7 separate regions of the Homo sapiens genome follow, and all the other regions are linked to region 1. Evidence: promoter capture Hi-C in 16 types of primary human blood cells and fetal thymus (Javierre and others, 2016). All regions are on one chromosome and are shown on one strand. The core of a region is centred on a gene start or on the middle of the fragment in contact, and the rest is flanking DNA. Distances in the headings are between cores, read along the strand shown.

Region 1 (2,700 bases), core at 185-2,684:
TCAATCTCATTGGTATCCACTCCCCTCCCTACAGTAACCATCATAATATCCACTAACACACAAGACTTTAATGACTTCCATTGCCCCTACCCATGACCATCATTAACATTCACTAAAACCCACAACTTCAACAGCCCCTACTGACACATCCATTTATTCCCATTGATTTCCATTCATCCCCCAATGACAACCATTATTATCCATGTGCAACTATGTCTCAATAATTTTCCCATAAAATCCCAATAATTGCATATTCTGTCACTGACATTCACTGACACTCCCATGTCCCCAAATATCTTTACTCCCTCCTAATAACTGCTCTTACCTGCTATTAATTCCCAAGTCCTCAACCTCCCCATCCACATTTATTCTCAGTGAGGTCCACTGATCCTTCCCAATGACTCCATTTACATCCACTAATTCCAAAGTGATCAATGGCACAGACTTCTCAGTGACTTCCATTAAATCTCAAATGAACAACTTTACACATCCACTAACATTTGGTCCCTTAAAGACTTCCCCAACAGTCTACAAGTGACTTCAATGATGTAAATACTCTGAGTGCCCATCGAACTCCACTGATTCCCCTTCCCACTTCTATTATTTAATAAATAACACCCTACTCCTCAAAAACACTAACTTCTCAACAGTCCTCCTCTGTTGAGTCTATTGACTTTCTTCAGCGCATTCTTTGATCTAAACACTCTAAATCCTCAGTGACCCTCTTTGGTCCTAACAGCCCCCTTTTTGATTCCTCAATGACCTAAACTCACACCAAACCCCCAGTGAACATCCGTTGACAGCCAATGACTTCCTCAATGATGTAAACTACACCATGTGTCCACAGTGACCTCCTCCTGACCCGGCGATGGTTTAAGCCACTTCTCTTAAGTCCCAAGACTCCCTACTGGTCACCCACTGACCCTTCCCCCGTCCAACAATGACAACCCCTAAGGATTCCTTTTAAGACCCCACTAAGTGGAGTCATACCTGTTTCCTCCAGGCCCTCGTCTTCGGGATCCGGCGGGACCGCGTGAACCCCTCCACCTTCTCTAGCTTCCTCACTGGGGAACTGCGTGTCCTCCAAGTCCTCCGCGCCCCCGGGGGCCGGGGCAGCAGTGTCTCCTCCGACCTCCATCTGCACATCCCTGAGTGGGAGGGGAATCGAGGGTGACGGGCGGTGAAAGAAACTTCTGAAAAGCCTTTATAGAGTCAGGCCCCCTTGGACACACTCCTACTGCTCATTTCCCCACGGATTTCAATAGGACGAGACATCCAAAATCATGCCCAAATACGTCCCCCCTCCAACACTTTCCGAAAAGAGGAGACTCTACTGGGCCTCAGGAAATAGAGATATACAAACACCTGTTTTAACTCCGAATCTCAATTGGCCGGATACCATTACTTCCCCGTAGCGGCGGTGGCATCACACTTCCGGGTGCGGCCCGGGAGGTGCCACACTTCCGGGTACGACCCCTCCCAGAAGACACTTCCGGTTGCGGAGCTTTATTGGCTCCTCGCGGCGTCCCTCTCCCGCCGCCTACGGGTGTCCCCTCATAGTTGAGATGGCGCGGGCCACTTCGGATCTACGTCAGGTCTGTTCGGGAGCGCAATGAGACCTCTCTGCACTCCTTTCAACGGATCTGGCTACGGCTGCTAACCCGGGAGAGCGAGGCCCACTTCGCTTACCAGTGGTTGGCGTGAGGGGGGACGCGGCTCGCTCTAGCCAATCCCGGAGTACATAGGGCGCGACCGTCTTCTTTCTGGGCCAATCGAGATGAGCCGCCTCATTTCCCCGCTGTCTACTCCCCCCGCCAAATCCTAACCAATACTGTGCGTTGTGTTGCGTTTGCACACGCCCATCCATTGATTGACGTCTCCCTCGACCCAATCGAAGACTCGAGCCTATTCCTTGTTTCACAAGAGGACTTTTGCAGCGTCAGTCCCGATGGATACCTGTGCCGGACCCACAAACGGGCTCTCCCAGAACTGAGGCAACTCCACTTTCTCTTATCCCTTAACCCTGCCAAGAAAGTCAAGGGAGGGGAGAGGCGCGAATGCTTGACGGGCAGTCGCCGCTTCTAATCAGCGTGCCGCGCCAGCAGCTCCGTACCCTGCCGGGTTCCCACGTCTACCTGCAGCTGGGGGAAGAACTCTGCCAGCCCAGGGCAGGGGCGGGCACTCACTTGGACCAGGACCTGCCCGACGCCCCCGGTCCGCCGGGCGAACGGGTCGTCACTTTCTGTGATCAGTTTGGGAAAAGGCTTGGGGGCCCTGCCACGGGCCAGTGTGGGAACCCAGGGTTCGAATTCCCGCCCCGACGCTGCTTCCGGACCGAAAGCCCCCTGAACGCCTTGCCCCAAGTGCCCTGGGCCTTGGTTTCTCCATCAGTGAAACAATGATGGGAATCGCTTGACGTGAAGTGAGTGGAGGTGCTGGCACACTTCGAGTGATTGCTAAGGGGAAGCCTTTGGTACTAGTTAGGATAATTATTTTAATTACAGTATAGTTAGGGTAATGAATTCCAAATACCAGTGTAGCATCATGTGCTTTATATACAATAGGTAATCGATAAGTAATAAATATTAAATTTATATAACAGAAACAATGGATAAATTTATGTGCATACAAAATATATTTACCTAATACATTTAGAAGTATATAATATATAATAAACATGTAAAAAAGTACAATAAAATA
Region 2 (2,933 bases), core at 114-2,613, 2.5 Mb after region 1:
AGAAGCTTCACTGAGACGATTAGAAATCAACATGAAAGAAATCAAGGAAACTTTGAGGCAGTGTAAGTTATCATGTGCCCTGCTGTTTCTGATGGCCCCCAAACTAGAAGTCATCAGTTTACTGGGACCCCAGCCTCCCGCTACCCCTGCATTTGTCCATTTTCTGTGCTGGATGGCTGGAAGCAGCCCACAGGTTTGGGGATCCATTCATGGCTAGCCCAGGCTTCTGTCCATGGAATAACATGTGGAGAGAGCTTCTTGACCAGTAAGATACCTTCTAGCAGCTGTCAAAGTACTTAAAAACCTCTATGAATAGAATCAAAGCTTCAGTTCAGTTGCTGAATTTCCAAGAAGAAATTCAAATCAAATTTAAAATGCCCACTCATTCATTCATTCAACAAAACTGTGAGTATCTGGTTTATGCCAGAGGCCATGCAAAGAGGTAACTAAGATGCAGAGAAGGACACTGCCTTCCAGGAGCTCACGGGGTGGAGGAGGAAAGAGGAAAGACAGACAGTGAACACACAACAGCAAGGTTACTGAGCTTGAACTATGTCCCTAACTACTAGATCTGAAATGACTACGCCAGATGCCAGATGCTCAAGTGCCAAGCTCTGGGTAACAGGAATAGACATCCTTCCAGGATGAGAGAGATGAGTCTGGATGAGGGTTAAGGCTGGAGGGACAGGCGGGATTTGAAGAGGAGGGAAAGGAAGTGGATGACACATTCTGTTAACTGTCCAGCTGTGTCTCTACTGGTCACTCAGAGGCACGGGAGCCGCTCCCTTGGGCTGAGTCCATCAGAAGCCCCAGCCACCACCAGCTCTGGTTCATGTAGTAGAGCTTCCCACTCACACATCACAAATATGCCACCTCCCTTAGGACCCCTTCCTCTGCTCATTGACTCTTTTGTCTTCTTTCCTCTCGGGGGTGAGGTCAGATTTACCACCAAAATGCATGCAGGAGATCCCGCAAGAGCAAATCAAGGAGATCAAGAAGGAGCAGCTTTCAGGATCCCCGTGGATTCTGCTAAGGGAAAATGAAGTCAGCACACTTTATAAAGGAGAATACCACAGAGCTCCAGTGGCCATAAAAGTATTCAAAAAACTCCAGGCTGGCAGCATTGCGTAAGTTGTTTTGTGTGGTTCTCTCGTGTGTACCAATACTTACTCTAACTCTCCAAGGAGAGAGGGATATCGTCTCCATTTTTAGATGAGGAAGCCTGGGCCCTAAAGGGTTAAATTATGTGCTCTCCACTGTTAAGGAGCAGAGTCTTGACTTAAATACATCTTTCCACCTCAGTTCTAGGTCTTCTCTCCTTTGTCCACATATATATTTAAAAAAAAAAAACAACTTTCCCTTCCAACCTTGTTTCCCAGTTGCTCATCCCCTCCACAGACAGTAGTTCTAGTGTGTTTTGTTTGTATGTGTTCTTGTAAAATGTATGCATACATTTTTCATGTTCACAACTGGTAGAGTTACGTGTCTGTTGCCTCCTTTCCTCACTTTTTTCACTCAACATCATGAAACGTGTTCCATATCTGGACTCCTTAATTTCTGTCTGCCATCCATGGTGAAGATCCACATTTTGCCTTTTTTTTTTTTTTTTTTTTTTTTTTTTTGAGACAAGGTCTCACTCTGTTGTCCAGGCTGGAGTGCAGTGGTGAGATCATAGCTCATTGCAGCCTTAACCTCCTGGGCTCCAGCAATCCTCACACCTCAGCCTCCCAAGTAGCTGGGACTGCAGGTGTGCACCACCATTCTTGTCTAATATTTAAATTTTTTGTAGAGACAGGGACCCACTGTGCTGCCCAGGCTTGTCTGGAACTCCTGGACTCAAGCGCCTTCTGCCTCAGCCTTCCAAAATGTTGGGATAACAGGCGTGAGCCATATATTTTGTCTCTTTTTTTTTCCAGTGATGGAACCTAGTCAGCTTCCAACTTTTCCCCACCAAAAAGATGCCATACTTAGTTTCCCTTTAGGGACCTGTATAAGAATCCTTCAGGATATAGCACCAGGAGAGAAAATGATGGGCCATGGGATATGTGTATATTAAGTGACTAAGTACTACCAGGCAACTCTTCAGAACAGTGTCTATGCCTACACTCCCACAAGCAACCTCACCAACCCTTAGTGTTATCCAGCTTTCTGATTACTTTCATCTTTATAGTTATAAAGTGATCAATATCTTGTAGTTATTTGAACTTGCATTTCTGTTTTTACTAATGAATTCAAGCCCTTATTTACATGTTTTAGTTATTTGGGTTTTCTCTTCCATAAATTGCCTGTTCATATCCTCTGCCCTTTTTTCCATCACGGTTGCTGCTTTTGTCTTGTCTGTTTGTAAATCTTTGTATATTGTGGAAATAAAGCACTTGTCAGCTTTAGACATTGCAAGCTTTTTATTTGTGCTCTGGAGGTGTCCTGCTCCACCTCTAGATCTTAAAGGCATTCTATATTTTCCTCTCTTAACTTTCCAGTTTTATTTTTTATATTTAGGTTTTAATCCTACTAGAATCCACCTTTGTATGTGACGTTATGTAGGGTCAACTTTTATTTTTAGCCACATAGTAAGTCAGTTTTCTCTATACCATCTATTAAGTCGTCTGTCTTTTCCCTGTTGATTTGTGGTACCATATTTATTGTATATTAAGTTTTTATATAGACATAGATCTGACTCTGATCTGTCTAATCTTTCCCACTGATCAATTTGTCTGTTTTTGTACCAGTAACACACTGTTACTGTTTTTTTCATATGACTTTGCAGTAAATTTCGATATCTGGTAAAGAACTTCCTCCTCTTGATTCTTCTTTTTCAGGTTGACTTAGCTGAATAAATATCAAAGAAAGTTTTATCACACTCCTCAAAATACACATCAAGATTTTCATTGAGACTGTATTTTTAACAGTTTTATTGAGATATATTTTACATA
Region 3 (2,760 bases), core at 154-2,653, 2.2 Mb after region 1:
AACAACAAACCAGCTTTGGCAGCAGTGTTCATGTATAATTTTATGGTTTTTGAGACAGAGTTTTGCTCTTGTTGCTCAGGCTGGAGTGCAATGGCGCAATCTTGGCTCACTGCAACCTCTACCTCCCGGGTTCAAGCGATTCTCCTGCCTTAGTCTTCTGAGTAGCTGGGATTACAAGCATGCGCCACAACACCTGGCTAATTTTTTGTGTTTTTAGTAGAGATGGGGTTTCTCCTTGTTGGTCAGGCTGGTCTCAAACTCCCGACCTCAGACCTCAGGTGATCTGCCCGCCTCGGCCTCCCAAAGTGCTGGGATTACAGGCGTGAGCGACCGTGCCTGGCCAATATCTAATTTGAATAGAAATTGGATCTTGTCCTCTGAAATGGTCGGACCCTTTTAATAATCAGTGGTTTTCAGTTTGTGGCTTTAGTCTGTAAAACCTCTTTTTTTTTTTTTTTTTTTTTTTTTTTTAAGACAGAGTCCTGCTCTGTCACCCAGGCTGGAATGCAGTGGCTCCATCTCGGCTCACTGCAATCTCCATCTCCCAGGTTTCAAGTGAATCTTGTGCCTCAGCCTCCTGAGTAGCTGGGATTACAGGTGTGCGCCACCACGCCTGGCTAATTTTTGTATTTTTAGTAGCCATGTTGGCCAGGCTGGTCTCAAACTCCTAACCTGAAATGATCCACCCACCTTGGCCTCCCATCGTGCTGAGATTACAGGTGTGAGCCACCGTGCCTGGCCTAGACATGAGTTTTAATCTAATTCTGACTGCAAAGCCGATGCATACCGTTTCTGCTGCACCAGGCTACCTCCATTTTATGCCTGGAGAAAGGGCAGAGTTTTTCCTCCCTTTGATAAATTGTGGTCTGTTGCTTTGGATTGCTGAAACCAAGTGCTTCAGAACACTGTTGCCTTTGGAAGTTGACTCACCAAGAAATTTTTTAAACGAGGACAGCAGCAATTTGTAGTCTAATAGAGTCTCATGGAATTGATTTCCTTCATTAGCCATCAGTTAGCTTGACGTTTCCAAATTATTATATTTACTCCAAGAGAATCAGAATCAAATATCACCATCAATTCTCATTTCATAAAGGGCATGTAAATCCTAAAGTGTTAAGTGTGCCAAAAGTCACCATCCTTCTTTGCAGTTGAAGGAACAAAGACTTCTAAGAACTTCATTCTCTTCTGTTTAAAGATACCTGTTTTGATAGAGAGCAGTCCTGGACAATAAGTTTGTTTTCCTACAATTGAGGAGGACTTTTCAGTATGGAAAAGCAAGAGTTTGGCTGGGCATGGTGGCACATGCCCATAACCCTAGCCCCTTGGGAGGCTGAGGCAGGAAGATTGCTTGAACCCAGGAGTTCAACACCAGACTGGGCTACATAGCGACCCCCCATCTCTACACAAAATTTTAAAATTAGCCGGGTGTGGTGGTGTGCATCTGTAGTCCCAGTTACTTGGGAGCCTGAGGCAGGTTAATCACTTGAGCCCAGAAGTTTGGGGTTACAGTGAGTACCACTGCACTCCAGCCTTGGCGACAGAGTGAGACACTTTCTTAGAGGCTGGGTGCTGTGGCTCACACCTGTAATCCCTGCACTTTGGGAGGCCCAGGCAGGTGGATCACTTAAGGTCAGTAGTTCGAGACCAGCCTGGCCGACATGGTGAAACCCCATCTCTATTAAAAATACAAAAAACAGCCAGGCACGGTGACAGGTACTTGTAATCCCAGCTACTCAGGAGGCTGAGGCGGGAGAATTGCTTGAACTCAGGAGGCAGAGGTTGCAGTGAGCCGAGATTGCGCCACTGCACTCCAGCCTGGGTGACAGAGCAAGACTCCATCTCAAAAAAAAAAAAAAAAAAAAAAAAGGAAGGAAAGAAGGAAGGAAAACTGATGAAAATTTTACAGTATAAAGTGTATGGGTAAGGTACACAAATCTTTTTTTTCTCTTTTTTTTGGGACCACTGTCAGAAACAAAATTTTGTTCATCACATTATTCTAATAGAACGTCTCACACAGCATGCAGTGAGCTATTGAAGTTTATTGTCCTAGGAGGTATTAACGAAACGAATGAACTTTAAAAGTTTAGATAAACTCGTGGGTGATAAATTATTAAGGGGAATTATCAAGAGAAACCACCAAAAATATTCTCAGAGATGTCGAGGAACACCTTGGCACATTGTGAGCTGGAAGGACCTTGATTTTGACTTGGTTCTGACCTACCATCTTTTTTTTGGCTTTTTTTTTAGACAGGGTCTTGCTTTGTCGTTTAGCCAGGAGTGTAGTGGTGTGAACATTGCTCATTGTAGCCACAACCTCTCGGGCTCAAGTTATCCTCCCCTCAGCCCCCCAAGTAGCTGGGAGTACAAGTGCATACACCATTCCTGGCTAATTTTTTTTTTTTTTAAAAGGTGTGGTTTAATCATGTTGTCCAGGCTGGTCTCGAACTCCTGGGCTCCAAGCAATCCTCCTGCGTTGGCTTCCCAAAGTCCTGGGATTATAGGTGTGCACCACCATGCCCAGCTGCAACCATCTTTCATACTACAGAGTTTTACAGAGCACCTCTGTGTACAAAGCAACTTGCTGGGTGCTCTGGGAGAAATGAAATAGACCATGCTCAGCAGGGGCTCATCAGCTAGTGGGAGAAGAAAGATGTGTATAGCAATAACTAAACACAGCAAGCTGTGGCAAGTTCTGTGATGCAGGGGCAGAGAAAGTGCTTTCGGAAAAGGTGGAACCTGCTTAGAGAGGTCCTTGGGAGA
Region 4 (2,700 bases), core at 94-2,593, 2.5 Mb after region 1:
TCTTGCTCTGTCACTCAGGCTGGAGTGCAGTGGCGCAGTATCAGCTCACCAGGACCTCTGGCTCCCGGGTTCAAGCGATTCTTGTGCCTCAGCCTCCTAAGTAGCTGGGATTGCAGGCGTGCACCAGCAGGCTTGGCTATAGTCTGTTGTTTTAAGATGTCATTACTCACGTTATAAAGGCAGGGTAAGATTTCATACATTTGTGTTATAGGTGAAGGCACCTTATGGTGTAATTTGGGGACCCTCCCAAAGTAAATGGGCTAACTTTCCATGGTTGAGAGTTGTGAGTGGTGTTTCCAGGAGCTGGCTGACTGTCAGGAGGCCTCTTGCAAGTCCTCAGTCTTGCTTATCCATGCACTCATTCTTGTTGGGGGACGCAGAGTGGATTCCTCTTGGTCAAGCACAGTGACTTGTATTAACCAACTTAAGGGTGACACTTATAAACCAGATGCCAACTTACAAAGAAAAACAGAACCACTAGAGAGCCAAACAGAAGCCAAACTCTAGTGAGAAAATTGCTTGATGTGGCTGGGCATAGTGGCTCACGCCTGTAATCTCAGAACTTTGAGCGGCCAAGGCAGGCGGATCCCTTTAGGCCAGGAGTTCGAGGCCAACATGGTGAAACCCCATCTCTACTAAAAATACAAAAAATTAGCCGGGCGTGGTGGCACACACCTGTGGTCCCAGCTACTTGGGAGGTTAAGGCATGAGAATTCCTTGAACCTAGGAGGCGGAGCTTGCAGTGAGCCAAGATCTTGTCACTGTAATCCAGCCTGGGTGACAAGAGTGACTCTCTGTCTCAAAAAAAAAAAAAAAAAATTATAGAATCTGCTCAGGGAATGAGTTATACAGAATTTAAATGTTGAAAGATGTCAGTCAAGCTATTTGGCAGCCATAATCTGTCTCCACAAAGGGAATAACCTAAACGGTCAGGAAGTGTGCAGTTCAGTGGAAATTACATCAGTTCTGGAGCCAGGTAAATGTGATTAAAACTTTTTTCCCTGAAGTATGACCTTTCCCAGGACTAATCGCTTATAACTTCTGAATTTCTTGAGATGAATTTCTCAGTGTGGTGTTTGACATTTACTCATCTGACAGACTGTCCCTGGGCCAGGTGTTGAAAGCCTGGGCCAAGGTGAACAGCTTTTGACTCACAGTCAGCCAAGAAGCCAAAGCTATGGAAAGCTAAGTAGTGAGCTTATTCTTCCCAACAGGCTTAGCTGAGGTCACAAACTCCTTTCTGATTTGTTTGGGGCGGTTTCATTCTGGCAGTGGGGGTCATCACTCATTCATCAAATATTGATAACACTCCTCTGTGTGAGAGACTAAACTTTGCCCTAGATATATTGGTGAATAACACAGATCACAATATTGTTTTCCTGGAGCATACGGAGTCTAGGACTACAGAGAGTAGGGAAGGAGCAAAATTCAAAGTTGGTAAGTGCAGGGAAGGAGGAGAATTTCTTGGGTTCTAAATCTGTGCTCCCAAAGAGAAACCCTAGCACTGCTTCCTGTTGGTTTTCACAGTTCCCCTTTCCTGTGTTCTTGCCTGACTTTGGAAATTCTTTGCTACATAAAAGCAATATTAAAGAGTGATTTTTTTTAATCGTCTATCACTTTTTTACTGGGTTCTATGTAGAATTCTATTGATATACGTGTCAACACCCTAACTCTAGTATGTATTTGATTAAATCTTCTTATGAAATGCTTTTCTTATGTGTTTAGTCTCATGGTAGCTATAGCTGCTGTTCACTTAGAATCTCAAGAAATGGAGTTGGTAAACTTGCTTAGCACTGTCTAAAAAGAAAACCTGGCTAGGCGCAGTGGCTCACACCTGTAATCGCAGCATTTTGGGAGGCTGAGGCAGGCGAATCACCTGAGGTCACGAGTTCGAGACCAGCCTGGCCAACATGGTGAAACCCTGTCTACTAAAAATACAAAAATTAGTCGGGTGTGGTGGCGGGTGCCCATAATCCCAGCTGCTCAGGAGACTGAGGCAGGAGAATCGCTTGAACCCGGGAGGTGGATGTTGCAGTGAGCCGAGATTGCGCCACTACACTCCAGCCTGGGCCGCAGAGCGAGACTCCGTCTCAAAAAAAAAAAAAAAGAAAAAGAAAACCTGGGTGATGTCAGTGAAAATGGCAGAGTAAGGACCACAGAGAATTATCTCCATGGAAGTAGTGAAACAACTGGCAGAATTTGTCAGGATCAACTTTTTCATAATTCAGGAAACTGACCAAATGCTTATAGCAATCCAGGGAGTGATTATTAAAGAAAAACAGCCGAATCTCATTGAGCTCTATGGCATTCCTTATTCTTGTCACCTTCTCCAGCTCCTTGATAGTTGTGAAAAGCATCTGCCTGTAATCATAGTAAAAACCAACAGCCTGGCAGGCACCAGAGGGATTGGAGCACCTTCAAAGCCTCATTCCCAGAGAATTATCTTTATATGACCTGTTGGTGGTTCTCTGGAAAACCCCATTTGCAAGACTACTCTTGACTCTGAGCAATGCAGAGTGTGAAAAGCCTAAATCATTTTCCCTGGGGCCTGCCTGAGGTAATGGATATTCAGTGGGATAAGCAATAAACTAACCAATAAGAAGGAAAGGAAAATCTAGGAATGAGATCAATTCAGTCACATCTTCTAAGTCTAGTTCTCTTGCTGTTTCTAGCACATCTGCAGTTACTTTCTTAACTGAA
Region 5 (2,856 bases), core at 14-2,513, 2.6 Mb after region 1:
TGCCAGCACACCCGGCTAATTTTTGTAGAGACGAGGTTTCACCATGTTGACCAGGGTGGTCTCAAACTCCTGACCTCAGGCAATCCACCCACCTCAGTCTCCCAAAGTGTTGGGATTACAGACGTGAGCCACCGCGCCCGGCCTTATTTATATATTTTTAAAAGCAGCAGTTAAAATGGCTTATAGGCTATCATGTAAATTAATTTTTCTTCTTTCTTTTTTCTTTTTTTTTTTGAGATGGAGTCTCATTCTGTCACCAAGCTAGAGTGCAGTGGCGCGATCTCGGCTCACTGCAACCTCCACCTCCTGGGTTCAAGTGATTCTCCTTCCTCAGCCTCCCGAGTAGCTGGGACTACAGGCGCCCGCCACCACGCCCGGCTAATTTTTTGTATTTTTAGTAGAGACGGGGTTTCACCATGTTGGCCAGGATGGTCTTGATCTCTTGACCTCGTGATCCGCCCGCCTTGGCCTCCCAAAGTGCTGGGATTACAGGCGTGAGCCACCGCGCCCGACCAATTTTTCTTCTTTCAGCAAACATTTATTGAAACCTGTGTGCAAGACACTGCTCAGTGTTCAAGTATACTACTGCTACTTATAATGGTTAGCATTTACTGAGGGTTTTCTGTGTGCCCTGTTCTGAGGGACTGGATGCTTTCTAGGCGTTATCTCATTTAATCTTATGAGAGATGTTTTATTATTATCATTCTTATTGATTTTGTTTGTTTGATTTTGTTTTCGAGACAGAGTCTTGCTCTTGACGCCCAGGCTGGAGTGCAGTGGTGTGATCTCAGCTCACTGTAATCTCTGGCTCCCGGGTTCAAGCGATTCTCCTGCCTCAGCCTCATGAGTAGCTAGGACTACAGGTACACACCACCATGTCCAGCTTTTTTTTTTTTTTTTTTGAGGCAGTCTCACTTTGTCACCCAGGCTGGAGTGCAGTGGTGCGATCTCAGCTCACTGCAAGCTCCACCTCCCGGGTTCACGCCATTCTCCTGCTTCAGCCTCCCGAGTAGCTGGGACTACAGGCGCCCGCCACCATGCCCGGCTAATTTTTTGTATTTTTTAGTAGAGATGGGATTTCACTGTGTTAGTCAGGATGGTCTCAATCTCCTGACCTCGTTATCCGCCAGCTTCGGCCTCCCAAAGTGTTGGGATTACAGGCGTGAGCCACTGCGCCCGGCTAATTTTTGTTTTTTTAGTAGAGGCAGGATTTCGCCATGTTGGCTATGCTGGTCTTGAACTCCTGACCTCAGGTGATCTGCTTGCACCACCATCTATCACCGGAGCTTTTTTTTTCTTTTTTCTTTCTTTTTTTTTTTTTTTGAGATGGAGTCTCACTCTGTCATCCAGGCTGGAGGGCAGTGGCATGATGTCAGCTCACTGCAACCTCAGCCTCCCTGGTTCAAGCGATTCTCCTGCCTCAGCCTCCTGAGTAGCTGGGACTATAGGCGCACCCCACCACGCCCAGGTAATTTTTGTATTTTTACTAGAGACGGGGTTTCGCCATGTTGGACATGCTGGTCTTGATCTCTTGACCTGGTGATCCTCCCGCCTCGGCCTCCCAAAGTGCTGGGATTACAGGCGTGAGCCACTGTGCCTGGTGAGTTTTGTTTTGGGTTTTTTTTTTGTTTGTTTGAGACGAGGTCTCACTCTCTTGCCCAGGCTGCAGTGCAGTGGCATGATCATGATTCACTGCAGCCTCTGCCTCCCGAGCACGAGTGATCATCCCACCTCAGCCTCCTGAGTATCTCCTCCTTAGTAGTAACCATACTCGGTTAATTTTAAAAGTTGTTTTTTTTTGTAGAGATGAGGTCTCACTCTGTTGTCCAGGCTGGTCTCCAACTCCTGAGTTCAAGCAGTCCTCCTGCCTTGGCCTCCCAGAGTGCTGGAATTATAGGCATGTGCCACTGTACCCAGCCTATTACATCCTATTATTTTTAGTGAGAAAACTGATTCTAAATAGCTTGCCTCAGGGCTTGTAAGTAGTGGAATCAAGATTTGAAAACAAGTCAGTCCAGCTGTGTGATAGCTCATTTTCCCCCCTGTCCCTAAAGCATAAGTAACCTAGGACTGCACTGTCTACTGTGGTAGTCATCAGCCACGTGCAGCTAGTGAACAGTTGAAACATGGCCTGTTTGAATTGAGATGTGCTGTAAGTATAAAATACACATTTGATTTTGAAGATTTAGTACCAAAAGGATGCATAATATCACAATAATTTTTTTTTTGAGGTGGAGTCTCTTGTGGCCCAGGCTGGAGTGCAATGGCACGATCTTGGCTCACTGCAACCTCTGCCTCCCGAGTTCAAGCAATTCTCCTGCCTCAGCTTCCCGAGTAGCTGGGTTTACAGGCACACGCCACCACTTCTGGCTAATTTTTGTATTTTTAGTAGAGAAGGGGTTTGACCATGTTGGCCAGGCTTGTCTCGAACTGCTGACCTCAGGTGATCCACCTGCCTTAGCCCCCCAAAGTGCTGGGATTACAGGCATTAGCAACCACGCCCAGCCCACAATAAATTTTTTTTCTTTTTTTGAGACAGAGTCTCGCTCTGTTGCCCAGGCTGGAGGGCAGTGGCATGATCTCAAAATGTGTACACTTTGAAGGGGTAAATCCTCTGGGTAAAGGAATTAAGTTCTGCCAAATTTGGAATACTGCCTATCAAAGGAAAACTCCACTTTCACGTATAAGGGGCAACCTCTGCCTCTCAGGTTCGAGCAATTCTCCTGCCTCAGCCTCCCGAGTGGCTGCGACTATGGGCATGTGGCACCATGGCTGGCAAATTTTATATTTTTAATAGAGATGGGGTTTCGCCATGTTGGCCAGGCTGATCTCGAACTCCTGACCTCAGGTGATCCA
Region 6 (2,700 bases), core at 12-2,511, 2.2 Mb after region 1:
TGTCCAGGCATGGTGACTCATACCTGTACTCTCAGCACTTTGGGAGGCCAAGGTGAGAAGATCGCTTGAGACTGGGAGTTCACGACCAGCCTGAGCAACACAGTAGTCTCTACAAAAAAAAAACCCATAGTAGTCTCTACCAAAAAAAAAGCTATATTAATCTTTTTGTTTGTTTTTTGAGACGTCTCACTCTGTCTCCCAGGCTGGAATGCAGTGACACCATCTCAGCTCACTGCAACCTCCGCCTCCTGGGTTCAAGCAGTCATCCTGCCTCAACCTCCTGAGTAGCTGGGATTACAGTCACGCGCCACCACGCCCGGCTAACTTTTATATTTTCAGTAGAGACAGGGTTTCATCATGTTAGCCAGGCTGGTCTTGAACTCCTGAACTCAAATGATCCGCCTGCCTCAGCCTCCCAAAGTGCTGGGATTACAGGCGTGAGCCACCAAGCCTTGCCTTATTAATCTTAGTAAGAGAAGAAAAAGACAGTATAACAAAATTATGAGTGAAATTTTATGACATATGTGCAAAAATCCAAAGGAGAATATTAACGTATTAAATCTGGAAATGTATTAAAAAAATACATCACAACCAAGCAGGATTAATTTCAAGAATATAAGGATAATTTAACATTAGAAAATCTATTAACATAATTCAAATCATTTACAACTGAAAGGAGAAAGCCCAGATGATCATCTGAATAAATACAAGGAAAACTGTTGATAAAATTGCTGTTTGTGATAATTTAGCAAAGTAGGAATAAAAGAGAATAAAGGCAATATACCAAAAACATATGTGATGCTTCCAAAAGCAGGAAACATTCCCTTTAAAAAAAAGCAGGAGAAAAATAAGGATTCCCATGATCATAGATTCTAATACGATTTTTACTGGAGGAACTAGCCAGCAATCTTAAAATAAGAAAGAAAAGTAACACAAAAGAGGATTACAAAAGAGGAAACAAAACAGTCATTATTTGCAAAGGGTGTGATTCTCTGAATTTTCTGTCGATATTTCTCATTAAAACTATGAAACCTACAAGAGCATAACAAGAAACCCGAAACAATTATAAACAATTTTAAAAGCTACTATTAACAGTAAGGACCAAAACTATAGGGTATCCTAACAAAAGGAATTCAAGATCTTCAAAAAAATCATAAAGCTTTATCCAGTGACATTAAATATTAACAGCTTACATTACTGATCACTTACTACCTGCTGGGCACTGTTGTGAGTGATGTGGATATGCTACAAACTCATTTGATTCATATGAGTCCTATATGATAGACACTGTTATTATTGTTAGCTTCACTTTAGAGGTAAAGAAATTAAGGCACAGGTTGTTAGGTCACTTGCCCAAGCTTCCAAAACCAAAAATTAGCAACACTGGGATTCACACCAAAGACAGTCTGGTGCCAAGCCTGTGACCTTAACTACTACCCTATACTGTCTCTCCCAAGAGAGGGTGTCCCATTCCTCCAATAAAGGCATCTCTGGCTCAGCTGAGCCAAACTTCCAGAAGCCATTCTTGTGTCATCCTGATGCCAACTTGATTTGAATTATCTACCCTACAACTGTCTAAGAAGCCCTTCTTTCAACAGATTGGATCCAAGCACCTTGGGAGCAGAGAGTGGCAGTGGATTTATTTCTGTTCACATAAGGATACAGACCAACAATGATTAAAGGAGATCTCAGTTTTAGGCCTAGTCTAAGTGACACCATGTCACTTTTAAGATCACATGGCTCTCCAATTCCCAGGAGCAGATCAATATAGATTTCTTAAACTTGAAAAGTTGTATTTATTAAGATCTTAAGCTGCTTTCCAGACTCAAGAACATAATGGATGTCAATGATTTATCTTTCTGATAACCTTTGAGAATTCTGGGAGATGGATATGTAATATTTATTTGTATAAGTTCTGCAACTTTTCTGTAAGTCTGAAATTATTTCCAAAAATTTTAAATGTAAATAAAATGTTTAAAATTTTTATTTTTATATCTGTAAATCAATTCTATCAGATTCATGGATAAGCCCAAATTTACAAAAATGGCTTATTGATAAACTCAATTTAATTCTAATAAATATCCTAACAGTTTTTTCTCCTCACAGAAAGTTAACAAAGCTGATTCTAAAATTTATCTGGAAGCACAAAGTGCCAAAAATAGCTAACCAGTTTTTGTTGTTTTTACTGTTGTTGTCTGTAACATACAGAACTGTTTACTCTGCTGTTTGCAATACAAAGACATCAGGAAATGTTATTGTTTGTGCAATATAGTAGGGAAAAAAATGAAACTGCCCATTAGGGTGGGTTTGCCAGATGTCCTATCATTAAAAAAGAATACCAGCTTTAAACAGAGCAGTTCCTGGTACTCTGTACTTCACTGTGTTTATTCTATCTGGATTCCCTTATTTGTCCCTTAGAAAGATTCAGTTAGCCAACACAGTTTTGCCCTTCCATGTAGCAAGACCTATTACAAAACGATAGTAAATAAAACAGTAGGCCGGCCGCGGTGGCTCACGCCTGTAATCCCAGCACTCTGGGAGGCCGAGGCAGGTGAATCACCTGAGGTCAGGAGTTCGAGACCAGCCTGACCAACATGGTGAAACCCCATCTCTACTCATACAAAAAAAAAAAAAAAAAAAAGCCAGGCATGGTGACAGACGCCTGTAGTCCCAGCTACTCTGGAGGCTATGGCATGAGAA
Region 7 (2,700 bases), core at 201-2,700, 2.2 Mb after region 1:
TCTCTCCGTTACCGGTGAGGCAGGCACAGTGCTGCAGTGGCAGAATGGAAGTACCCAGGCTGACTTGCTCTCAGCCAGACACGACCTCTTCTCTGAGGAGGGTGATGCCAATAAATGGAACTCCAATAGGTAGGCTTCGCTCTGCCCTTCCACAAGTGAACACACGCCGTGAGTCCCTAAATCGCCAGGCTCCGCAGCCTCGCAGAAAGCCTAGTTTCCAGACGGTAGGTATCCCATTTATCCCTTGGCATCGGGAACCAAAGGGAATGCAGACAGATCCCGGTCGTGCACTACATTCCCAAACCTTGGCACGCACGCGAAGGCTTGGGGCGCCCCGGCGCGCCCTCCCTCCGAGGCCTCCACCACCCGCGGACTCACCACTATGCGAGCTGAACCACCTGGGTGCGATGTGCAGAGGTAGAGCATCCGCCAGCGAGGCTCGGGAGCCCAGGTACAGCATCCCGTCTCTATGGTGACCGCCGCCCGTCTCCTGGTAACCATTGCCATGGGCATAGGTGGAGTCGGACGCAGACCCTCCGCCGCCGGGCGCCCTCTCGGAGTCGCCGGTGCCCCGGGAGGCGGGGGTGTAGAGGCCAAAGGGCACCCCCCCGGCCGTGCTGGGGTCCATGCCCATGCCTGCCACCGAGCTGACCGAGCGGCTGCGCAGCCCCATGGCCCCGCCGCCCGTCCGGTAGTGCCCGAAATGGGGCGCCCCTCCCGGCGGCGGCACGGCGCTGTCATCGGTGGAGACCCCCGGGAAGGGGCCCCGGGAGCGGGCCGCCGTGCTCTGCTTGCCCCCCATGCTCGCCCGGGCCCCGGTGGGGCGGGAACCTGGAGGCCGAGACCCTCCCCCACTTCTCAGCAGCAGGGGGAGGGCTGGGCGAGCATAAAGGGGGAGGGAGTCAAAAAGGAGACCCGGAGGGAGAAAAGGAAAAAAAGCAAAAGGAAAAAAGGAAAAAACCCGCGGGGCGGAAGAGGCAGGCGGGCGGGCGGGGATCCCAAACTCAGAATTTCAAACGATCCAAGGCAAACGCATGTTTCCCCTCAAGGTCCAAAGAGGCGCAGTCCGGCGCGGGCTCCGCGCGCCACAGGCCGCCCCCGGGCTCCGAAAGCCGGGGGAGCCGCAGGGAAGGAGGGAGGGAGGCGGCGGCGAGCGGCGGGCGGGCGCGGGGAGGCGCCGGAGGAGGCCGCCCGCCCCGCGGGAGGAGGCGGAGGAGGGCCGGGGGCGCCGGGCGCGTCCCCCGCCTCAGGACGCCGCGACCATGGACGGCGGCCCGGACCCCTCCAGGCCTCGGGCGGGCCGCGGCGCTGGGCGGCCAGGCGCAGCTCGGGAAGCCGCGGTCGCGTCGCGTCGCGCTCTCGCTTCAGCCGCCGCCGGCCCCGCCAGCCGCGCCGCCCCGCTCGGTCCCGGGCTGCGCTCGCCGGCGCTCCTCGCCGCCGTGGAGACAATGGAGGGCGGCAGAGCGCAGGCGCGGCCCGCGCCCCCTCCCCCTCCCCCCGCCGGGTTAACCCTTTCGCGGTCCCTGCGGCGCCTGGGCCGCTGACGCCCCAGCAGTCCCCACCCACCGCCCGCCCCCGGCCGGCCTGTGACCTGGGCGGCCTGACCACTGGGCGTTAGCCACAGAAACCAGATGTCTTTCAAAAGCAAACACTTCTTAAGTCCCCGAAAGTGGCAAATTATTCAGGGGGAACCAAGTATGGGGGAGGGGCAGCAATGGTTCGAGGGGGTGGGAAGGAAACACCGGGAAGAAGGAGATTTACTCCTTACGCCTACCTGGCTCTGAGGGTCACCGGTCGAGCTCCCCTCCTGGCACAAATTTGCCCCCACAGCACCCTCTGGTGGACGTGATGTCCATTCTTTCGGGGGTTCCCCATCCAAGCACCCCTCACGTCCGGAATCTCAACATTTGGCGGGGTTTAGTTATTTGGGGGTAAACAGCGCCATGGGGACACTTGTGAATCCGGCGTTTTGCTGACACTAGATCATAACTTCCTATTTTGGGCTTAAGCAAATGAGTAGATTCCTTAGCTAAAATGTAATTTTCAGAATCAATAGATGTACCATAAAAAGTGAATAGATATGGGTATGGAAATAGAACAACGCAGCTAGAAGTGATTATAGAAACCTTCTGTCCAAGGCTGGAGCCCTGTTTTGTTTACCATGTGCTGTGTTTCGGCCCTCACCACGGGCCAAGGACACGGTGGGTACTCAATAGGTGTATTGTTGACCAAGCCTGAATCATTTGCAAGGGAGTGTTCCTTTGCTACCTCAAGCCGTCTTTCTCCTATATTCACATTCATTTATTGAACAACTGTTTTTTTTGTTTTGTTTTGTTTTTGTTTTTGAGACGTAATCTCGCCCTGTCACCCAGGCTGGAGTGGTGTGGCGTAACCTCGGCTCACCGCAACCTCCGCCTCCCGGATTCAAGTGATTCTCCTGCCTCAGCCTCCCGAGTAGCTGGGATTACAGGCACATGCCACACTGCACCTGGCTAATTTTTTGTATTTTTAGTAGAGGCGGGGTTTCACCGTATTGGCCAGGCTGGTCTTGAACTCCTGACCTCAGGTAATCCACCTGCCTTGGCCTCCCAAAGTGTTAGGATTACAGGCATGAGCCACCGCGCCCGCCCTGTTTTTCTTTTTCTTTTTTTTCTTTTCTTTTTTTTTTTTTTTGAGACGGAGCCTTGCTCCTCCCAGGCT

The links. Contacts are between HindIII fragments. The CHiCAGO score rates a contact against its expected background, and 5 or more counts as called.
Region 2: a contact is called between a fragment that was not itself captured here and the fragment with the promoter of MON1B in region 1, in 1 of 17 cell types (neutrophils). The highest score is 5.3, in neutrophils.
Region 3: a contact is called between a fragment that was not itself captured here and the fragment with the promoter of MON1B in region 1, in 1 of 17 cell types (neutrophils). The highest score is 5.7, in neutrophils.
Region 4: a fragment that was not itself captured here is called in contact with the fragment with the promoter of MON1B in region 1 in 1 of 17 cell types (neutrophils); the score reaches 8.5 in neutrophils.
Region 5: a fragment that was not itself captured here is called in contact with the fragment with the promoter of MON1B in region 1 in 1 of 17 cell types (neutrophils); the score reaches 8.0 in neutrophils.
Region 6: a fragment that was not itself captured here is called in contact with the fragment with the promoter of MON1B in region 1 in 1 of 17 cell types (total B cells); the score reaches 5.6 in total B cells.
Region 7: the fragment with the promoter of ZNRF1 here is called in contact with the fragment with the promoter of MON1B in region 1 in 1 of 17 cell types (neutrophils); the score reaches 11.0 in neutrophils.

Annotation. Positions count from the first base shown.
Region 1 is chr16:77,189,924-77,192,623 of GRCh38, reverse strand. MON1B (MON1 vesicular trafficking associated B) reads right to left here and starts at 1,434. Exons shown (of 6, transcript NM_014940.4): 1 at 1,366-1,434; 2 at 991-1,148. The coding sequence starts at 1,138. It overlaps LOC124903725, which reads left to right and starts at 2,058. Exons shown (of 1, transcript XM_047435021.1): 1 at 2,058-2,700. The coding sequence starts at 2,058. The coding sequence ends at 2,402. RefSeq lists enhancers at 1,283-1,332, 1,353-1,642, 768-1,716. The HindIII fragment of the contact is 24,724 bases long and covers 1-2,700 here.
Region 2 is chr16:74,689,471-74,692,403 of GRCh38, reverse strand. It overlaps MLKL (mixed lineage kinase domain like pseudokinase), which reads left to right. Exons shown (of 11, transcript NM_152649.4): 3 at 1-62; 4 at 941-1,127. Among named protein-coding and RNA genes, the nearest start is that of MLKL, 9.9 kb to the left of the region's middle. The HindIII fragment of the contact is 2,074 bases long and covers 327-2,400 here.
Region 3 is chr16:74,970,533-74,973,292 of GRCh38, reverse strand. All of the region lies in intron 1 of WDR59 (WD repeat domain 59), which reads left to right. Among named protein-coding and RNA genes, the nearest start is that of WDR59, 13 kb to the left of the region's middle. The HindIII fragment of the contact is 5,982 bases long and covers 1-2,760 here.
Region 4 is chr16:74,656,886-74,659,585 of GRCh38, reverse strand. All of the region lies in intron 2 of RFWD3 (ring finger and WD repeat domain 3), which reads left to right. Among named protein-coding and RNA genes, the nearest start is that of RFWD3, 8.6 kb to the left of the region's middle. The HindIII fragment of the contact is 3,732 bases long and covers 1-2,700 here.
Region 5 is chr16:74,595,898-74,598,753 of GRCh38, reverse strand. The region is part of intron 1 of GLG1 (golgi glycoprotein 1); the gene reads left to right. Among named protein-coding and RNA genes, the nearest start is that of GLG1, 9.8 kb to the left of the region's middle. The HindIII fragment of the contact is 9,477 bases long and covers 1-2,856 here.
Region 6 is chr16:75,016,641-75,019,340 of GRCh38, reverse strand. The region is part of intron 1 of ZNRF1 (zinc and ring finger 1); the gene reads right to left. Among named protein-coding and RNA genes, the nearest start is that of ZNRF1, 19 kb to the right of the region's middle. The HindIII fragment of the contact is 199 bases long and covers 1,162-1,360 here.
Region 7 is chr16:74,997,774-75,000,473 of GRCh38, reverse strand. ZNRF1 (zinc and ring finger 1) reads right to left here and starts at 1,450. Exons shown (of 5, transcript NM_032268.5): 1 at 379-1,450. The coding sequence starts at 802. RefSeq lists silencers at 429-738, 1,139-1,658. The HindIII fragment of the contact is 6,289 bases long and covers 1-2,700 here.